Linked DNA regions of Homo sapiens: region 1 is linked to region 2. Evidence: promoter capture Hi-C in human tissues and cell types (Jung and others, 2019). All regions are on one chromosome and are shown on one strand. Each heading gives the region's core, a stretch centred on a gene start or on the middle of the fragment in contact. The rest is flanking DNA. Distances are from core to core; before and after follow the strand shown. Region 1 overlaps BUD13 (BUD13 spliceosome associated protein). Region 2 holds the start of APOA4 (apolipoprotein A4).

The links. The method cuts DNA at HindIII sites, captures the fragments that hold promoters and counts their contacts. A contact is called where the count stands out against the background at its distance.
Region 1: a contact is called between a fragment that was not itself captured here and the fragment with the promoter of APOA4 in region 2, in 2 of the 25 tissues and cell types used here (dorsolateral prefrontal cortex and stomach).

Annotation. Positions count from the first base shown.
Region 1 is chr11:116,764,286-116,768,394 of GRCh38, forward strand. BUD13 (BUD13 spliceosome associated protein) reads right to left here. Exons shown (of 10, transcript NM_032725.4): 3 at 1,077-1,161. Among named protein-coding and RNA genes, the nearest start is that of BUD13, 6.6 kb to the right of the region's middle. The HindIII fragment of the contact is 6,710 bases long and covers 1-4,109 here.
Region 2 is chr11:116,822,054-116,825,799 of GRCh38, forward strand. It overlaps APOA4 (apolipoprotein A4), which reads right to left and starts at 1,251. Exons shown (of 3, transcript NM_000482.4): 1 at 1,090-1,251; 2 at 606-732. The coding sequence starts at 1,138. RefSeq lists enhancers at 3,239-3,605, 3,460-3,746. The HindIII fragment of the contact is 11,668 bases long and covers 1-3,746 here.

The sequences.
Region 1 (4,109 bases), core at 1,037-3,536, 57 kb before region 2:
ACTTGTTAAATGGATGAATTAAACCAAGTCAACTCCTTTACTTTGGGGAACAGCCCTATCTGATTGGAATCCACTCCACAGAGAAAAGTATGATGTCTGTGGGGGGCCTAACAGTAAATCTGAAGGAAGCAAGGGTCAGAGATTGGTAAGCGTACTTCCAATAACAAATTGGGATGGGGGAGTGAAAGCAAGGCAGAAGAAAAGGAGTGAGTGAGTGTGAGTGTGACTGTGTGTGTGTGTGACTGACCTTCTAAACATTCAGATACACAAGAAAAGGCACCGTGTGTATGTGTGTGTCTGTGTGTCTTCCTAGACAAACAGACATGGAGACCAAAAGATTCTCTTTGGAAAAGAATTCTGATTAGGCTACAAAAATCAAATACCTACTAGCAATTAAACAATTCTACAAATATTTATTAAAGGTAGCTCCTTGTGCTAGATAGGGGAATATCATGGCAAATAAGACTAGTCTATGCTCAAACAGATGTGACAAACAAATGCTTTTTATCCAATTCTCAAGGACTCAAATTTTTTTAAAGAGAGTTAAATTAAGATTATTAGCTTAGGAAGAGTCCAAAGTGGGCAAGTGGAGGGTAATGCACTATAAAACACCAATACTTAAGGAAAGAAGAGAGAAATTTACTAACACAAACAGAACAAAATACACTGGTCCTTGACCCCCCAGAAATGAGTTGCTTCATTGTGGAAGAGGATAGTGGTAGCTAAAGTCCCCAAATTCTGCTCCTGTTTCTTGTAAACTCCTCCCAAAGTCTTGCCTATACACCAAGTGCTCTCCTATTCTGAGTCAAAGAGGAATGGGTGCTCAAAGGCCTCCAAATTAGTCACCAACCTCAGTAATCCTAATGCCAAAATATAAGAGAAAGAGGAATATCTGGTCTATAAGTTCCTATGTCTTACTACCTCTGAAGAAGTCCAACTTCCTTTTTCCTGCTTTATTTTTCAGGATCAATGACATGCTAAAACAAACTATGCATTCCTCTAAAGAAAAGTATAGAAAAGGAAAAAAGATCTCCCCTACTAATGGAAATTTAGATTTATCTATTGTTGGAACTCACCTCCCAGAAGCTTCCATTTGGCACTGGAACGAAAGGCCTCCATCTGCTTTACCTCTTCTGGCCGCTCATCCACAAACTCTGCCACCTGTGAGAGTAAAGATTTCCTATCTTAGGAAATCCACAGGATCCAGCCAAGAAGCACTGTCTCAAGAACCTGAAGTTACAACCATTCCGATTCCTAACACAAGGGCGTACATATATCCAAAATGGTCATGAAGAAGTAAGTAGGGGTCTTCAGTTATGTTTGCTCCATAAACATCTGATTGTCACTGTATTGGTTTAATTGTAGATCCTTCTCTAATTAATCAATTACCCTGCAAAGGTTAATTTTTTTCATTACAAACCTTTTTATTAACCTGCTAGGTACACAACAGCCACTTGTAAACTAACAACTAAATTCCTTTTACACTTTTACTTCTACATTAACAGTGGAAACATAGGTGGCTCCCCCCATCATGCCTAGCACTAATCAAGGACTTTGGGTTTCTATGAATCCTTTCTTGTTGTAGGTAGTCACAGTGATAGGTTTTCTTGAATACAACCAAAAAGAGCCACTGAGATGTACACAGAATCATTAATCTTTAAGAGCTAAAACCACATTTCATATCTTCTAAACTTCTGAACAAATCAGAATCTTCTCTATAGTATTCCTAATAAGTGGTCACTCGCCCAATCCCTTCCTGACAAGGAACTCATTATCTTACAACACAGTCCACTGCATTTTTCAAAAATGTTAGAAAGTTCTTAGTTTTACTAGTACCGTATCTGCCTTCCTATAACTTCTTTGAATTCATTCTAGTTCTGACCTGTGATGTAAGTCCACATGACAAACTTTCAAGATTGCTGGCATAATAAATCCTAGTTACAGAGTAGCAACTATGTGCAAGGTACTGTGTTTTGTGGTTTACTCATATAATCTAACTCGATTCTCACAATAATCCTGTAAAGAAAGGCTCCACACTACTGAATAGCAAACTGATTCGGAGAAGTTCAGTAACTTTCTCAATGTCACAAGCTAACAAGTGGCAGAACTGGAATTTAAATCCAGGTCATAATAGCCCTCTACTTCTCCCAAAATCCTACCATCATTCTTCATATAACCCAGTTTTGAGATCTCTCACTGAGCGTTAAAAGCACAGGTTTCGGGCAAGATGAATTAAGATCTAAACCCCAGCTCGGCCACTTAGCATTTGTGTAACCTTTGGTAAATTATTCTAAGCCTCAATTTCCTCATTTGTAAAAGTGGGATTCAAAGGATTGCTATAAGGATTGAATGAGATAATTCACGTAAGCTTAGCCATGCTTGGTACATGATAAATGCCCAATAAATGACACCTATTAATTATTCCTGTGCTGCCACTGCTATCGTAATCATCATAATCGTTTTACCATTATTACTGGTGGTGGTGGTGATCTTGCAGTTACAAAAATGAATTCAGTAATCAAGATCTGTTTTAACCAATGCAGAGAGCAGTGGCACTAAAGCCTCCTTTGTTTAGGTTTTTGGGCCATCATAAAAGCAAGACAATATTATAAAAGAAAATGGCCAGGTGCGGTGGCTCATTCCTGTAATCCTAGCACTTTGGGAGGCTGAGGCGGGTGGATTGCTTGAGCCCAGGAGTTCATGACCAGCCTAGGCAACACGGTGAAACCCCGTCTCTACCAAAAACACAAAAATTAGCTGGGCATGGTGGCAGGCGCCTGTAATCCCAGCTATTTGGGAGGCTGAGGCAGGAGGTTCACTTGAACCTGGGAGGCAGAGGCTGCAGTGAGCCAAGATTGAGCCACTGCACTCCAGCGTTGGTGACAGTGTGAGAATATGTCTCAAAAAAAAAAAATAATAAAAACAATTATGAACTAAGTGAAAAGGCAAATGATAAAATACACCCACAACATAAGCCTAATGAACATATAAAAAATGATTCATTTCACTAGTGTTCAAAGAAACTGGGCCAGGCACGGTGGCTCACGTCTGTAATCCCAGCACTTTGGGAGGCCGAGGCAGGCAGATCATGAAGTTAGGAGATCAAGATCATCCTGGCTAACACAGTGAAACTTCATCTCTACTAAAAATACAAAAAATTAGCCAGGCATGGTGGCAGGTGCCTGTAGTCCCAGCTACTCGGGAGGCTGAGGCAGGAGAATGGCGTGAACCCGGGAGGCGGAGCTTGCAGTGATCCGAGATCACGCCACTGCACTCCAGCCTGGGCAACAGAGTGAGACTCCACCAAAAAAAAAAAAAAAAAAAAAAGAAACTGGATACCATTACTCACTTGCTAAATCAGCATAGGTTTGCTATTGGTTTTGTTTTGTTAATAATCCTTCAATATTGGTGGGGCATGTGGCTAACACCTGTAATCCCAACACTTTAGGAGGCCTAGGCAGGAGGATCACTTGAGCCCAGGAGGTCAAGACCAGACTGGGCAACACAGAGACCTCATCTCTACAAAAAATACCCAAAATTAGCCAGGCATGGAGGTGCGCACCTGTGGTACCAGCTACGTGCAGGACTAAGGTAGGAGGATTGCTTGCACCTGGAAGGTAGAGGCTACAATGGGGCATGATCACACCACTGTATTTCAGCCTGGGCAACAGAGCAAGACCCTGTCTCAAAAATAATAATAATAATAATAATAATAATAATAATAATAATAATAGTGCTCTAATATTGACGACGTAGGCAAACTGGCATTCTCATCACCTCTAGTGGGAGTGTAAATTGGTAGCACCTTTTGGAAAGCAACATGGGAATATAACTAAAGCGAACCATACCCTTTGATCCACTCATTTCATTTTATGGGAATAAAGAAATAAACTGATTTCTACAAATGATTTATGTACAACGATGTATGATATTTTATAAGTGGAAACAATCCATGTATCCAGTAACAGAACAGATAAAATATATATATTGAACTACTACATAACCGTTAAAAATCATACACTCAAAGAATATTTTAAGGTCTTACCAGAGTATCCACAACATATTATTTAGCAGAGGAGTAGACTCCAAAACCCTATGTACAATATGAT
Region 2 (3,746 bases), core at 1-2,500:
CTAAGTTACGATGCTGAATTTCTATCTCAGGATCTCCCACATAGTTTGTCTCAGAATCTACCCACCATGTCACCTCCAGCAGTTTGCTTTCCCCTCCTTGTCTGCAGAGGGTGGGACTTTGAGGTCCTTCCCAGAGGGAGTGTTCTGGGCCATAGGATCACATTGTGTAACACAATGTTGTCTTCTTGACCTCTGCTGGGGTCTTCCAGTGGCACAAGGTGCTGCTTTCCTTGCCTGTGCCCAGGGGCCTCCCAAATATTCCCACCTCCCTCCCCTTGATTCCACTGGGGCCTGTCTTTCTGAAACGTATTAGAAATCAGCTCACGTGACATTTTCCTCCCTCCCTCTCTTCCATGAGCCTGAATGATAGGATGTGGCCATTTGTCAAACTCTAGAACGTCAAAGCAAAAGGACATGGCAGGGATTATTCGGTCCAAACTTCCGGTTTACATATGTGGATCCTAGGTTCAGAGGCCCGGCCAGTTAGTGGCAGGGCAGTGGGTATCCTAAGCTCAGGGCTCCTGTCTCTAAGCTCAACCCTTGCCAGTACATTGCATGGCCTTTAAGAATTCCCCGTCACCACCGCACACTGTAGTCCCTCTTACTTGAGTTGCTGGGTGAGTTCAGATTTCTGGAGATGTTCCACGGCCTCCTTGGCATTGTTGCTCAGCTGGCTGAAGTAGTCCCACATCACCGTGGCCACCTGGTCAGCACTGACCTCAGCCCTGGCTCCTGGGTGGTAACAGAGAGCAATTCATGAGGCCCCGTCTCCTGTGTGGCCCCTCTGCTCCAGCTCTGAGCTGCAGACTGGATGATGGTGGGGGTGCCTCAACCTGCCATTTTCCCTGTCTGAGCTTAGCTTTTTGGAAGCCACAGGGATATGTGAAACTGGTATAGCACCAATGCCAATGGGCCCACCACTGGGACTGGGCCAGCTCTCCTGTGAGCCACTTGGCAGCCAGGCAGACCTCATGTCCAGCTGGGGGCTGATGGGCACTCAGAAGTGTCCTTTTGCTTTGGCTCAGCCTCCATCCTGCACTACTCAGAGCAGCAGCCCAGGAGTGCCATCCAAAGACAGCTTCTACTCACCGGCGACAGCCACCAGGGCCAGGGTCAGGACCACGGCCTTCAGGAACATCCTGAGCTGCTTGCTGGGCTGGAGGAGTTTCTTGCCACACTGGATCCTCCCTACAATCAGGGGAGCTGACAGAGAGGTCCTCAGGAGAGCTCACCTGCGCTGCAGTGGGAACTGACTGAAGCTCAGAGCCAGCCAGACATTTAAACTCTCTCCCTATCGCCACCCCCCTGGCTGCCCTCCCCTCCTCCTTCCTCAGTGTGACTCCACGCTGGAAGGTGACACATTCCCAAGAGGCCTCTTGGACTTTTGTGACCCTGAGACTACGTGGAAGCTGACAGCAGATCAGGGCTCAGGCGATAGTTAGAAGTGGTGGCTGTTCCGTGCGTGGGCACCCCCACCCCCACCCCACCAACCTCAGCATGGAAGGGAGGAGGGGAACGGAAAACAGTAGGAGAAACACCTCAGGGAGCCCATGAGCCCGGGACTGATGCCTCGAGGCCCTGCTGGCGGCTCTGGGTTTGTGCCGGGCTCATGGGGGGCAAAGTCCACATCTCCTCTGTCTACCCCAGTGAAGACAGGTCCCCCCAGTCTCCACATCCGCCACTAATGCTGACTCCATCTCAGAGCACCAGACACTGGAGTGGGACCATCCAGGACTGCAGACAGCATAGTGAGCTAAAATCTAGGTCTCTTGTCAAGGTACACCCAAGAGGAGGGGGCCCTGGAGAGCCTTTGGGCAGATGGGTGTGGGAGACAGGGCCTTGTCCTGAAAGGGTTAATTGTAGAGTGCTTCATGTCCCACTCCCATGCTGTGCCTCCTTGGTCTAGTTATTCAAAGCCCTGAGCTTCAGTTTCTCCTCTGAACAATGGGATGGTTCAGTACATTAAAGAAGACATTGCTTGCGAAGTGGGTAGTACGGTCATCTCTCAGTCTCCATGGGAAATTGATTCCAGGACCCTCTGCAGATACCAAAATCCATGGATGTTCAAGTCCTTGATATAAAATGGCATAGTATTTGCATATAACCTAAGCACAGCCTCCCACATACTTTAAATCTCTAGATTACTTATAATACCTAATACGACGGAAATGCTGTGTGAATGGTTGTTATACTGTATTGTTTAGGAGGTAATCACCAAAAAAGTCTGTATATGTTTAGTACAGGTGCAATTTTTTTTTTTTTTGAGATGGAGTCTTACTCTGTCACCCAGGCTGGAGTGCAGTGGCACGATCTTAGCTCACTGCAATCTCTGCCCCCCAGGTTCAAGTGATTCTCCTGCCTCAGCCTCCTGAGTAGCTGGGATTACAGGCACCCACCACCACGCCCAGCTAATTTGTGTATTTACAGCAGAGACGGGGTTTCACCATGTTGCTCAGGCTGGTCTCCAACTCCTGGCCTCAAGCAATCCTCCCATGTGGGCCTCCCAAAGTGCTGGGCTTATAGGCGTGAGCCACTGCGCCCTGCCCAGATGCAATTTTTTTAAAACATTGTTTTTAATGGAGATGGGGTGTCGCTATGTTGCTCAGGCTGGTCTCCAACTCCTGGCCTTAAGTGATCCTCCAATCTCTGCCTCCTAAAATGCTGGGCTTACAGGCATGAGCCACTGCACCCGGCCCACAGATGCAATTTAAAAAAAAAAATATATATATATATATATATATATTTTTTTTTTTTTTTTTTTTTTTGAGATGGAGTCTTGCTCTGTCACCCAGGCTGGAGTGCAGTGGCACGATCTCGGCTCACTGCAAGCTCTGCCTCCCGGGTTCACGCCATTCTCCTGCCTCAGCCTCCCAAGTAGCTGGGACCATAGGCGCCCGCCACCACGCCCGGCTAATTTTTTTTTTTTTTTTTGTATTTTTAGTAGAGATGGGGTTTCGCCGTGTTAGCCAGGATGGTCTCGATCTCCTGACCTCGTGATCCGCCCGCCTCAACCTCCCAAAGTGCTGAGATTACAGGCGTGAGCCACCACGCCCGGCCTAAAAAATTATTTTCAATCCAAGGTTGGTTGAATCCATGGACACAGAAACCAAGGATACAGAGGGCTGCCTATAGAGCTCCTGGCACAGAGTAAGCTCTGAAAAATAGTTGCTGTTATTATAATAATCATACTGTATAATAATCATACTGTGTTCCTGATTTGGAGCAAAGCAGGGAGGGTAGCAGAGTGCTCCCTCCTCTAGTGAGAGTGGCAGAGTGAGACTCAGCCCTCTGAGGGGCGCCAGGTGGGCCAGAGGCAGGGTGATGGGTGGGACCAGCCTGAGGCCTGACTCCTGCCCTTCTTGCCCCCCAGCCACACTCCCTGGGCAGGAGCAGCTGGCTTGAGCAGAATCTTGGGACCTGAGGCTCTCAGGGGACCTCCCATTGGGGGATGGAGGGCAATGGTGGTGGTGCCCAGGAGGTCTTCTACTTAGATGTCTATTGGATCTCTAAATGAGGCTGCATGCATAATCACACACAAACATCCACTGAGAAGGTGACACACCACGTCAGCATGGGTCCCTCTGCCGGACCACACCACTCCTAGTGACTATGAGGTGACATCCAGGCACGTTGCACTATTGGCTCCTGTCGGTGAGTGCAGTGCCTGACAACAGTGAGCTACATTTATTTGTAAAAATGAACGCCATCAGAGTAGACCACAATTGTACTAACTCTAATTTGCTTTG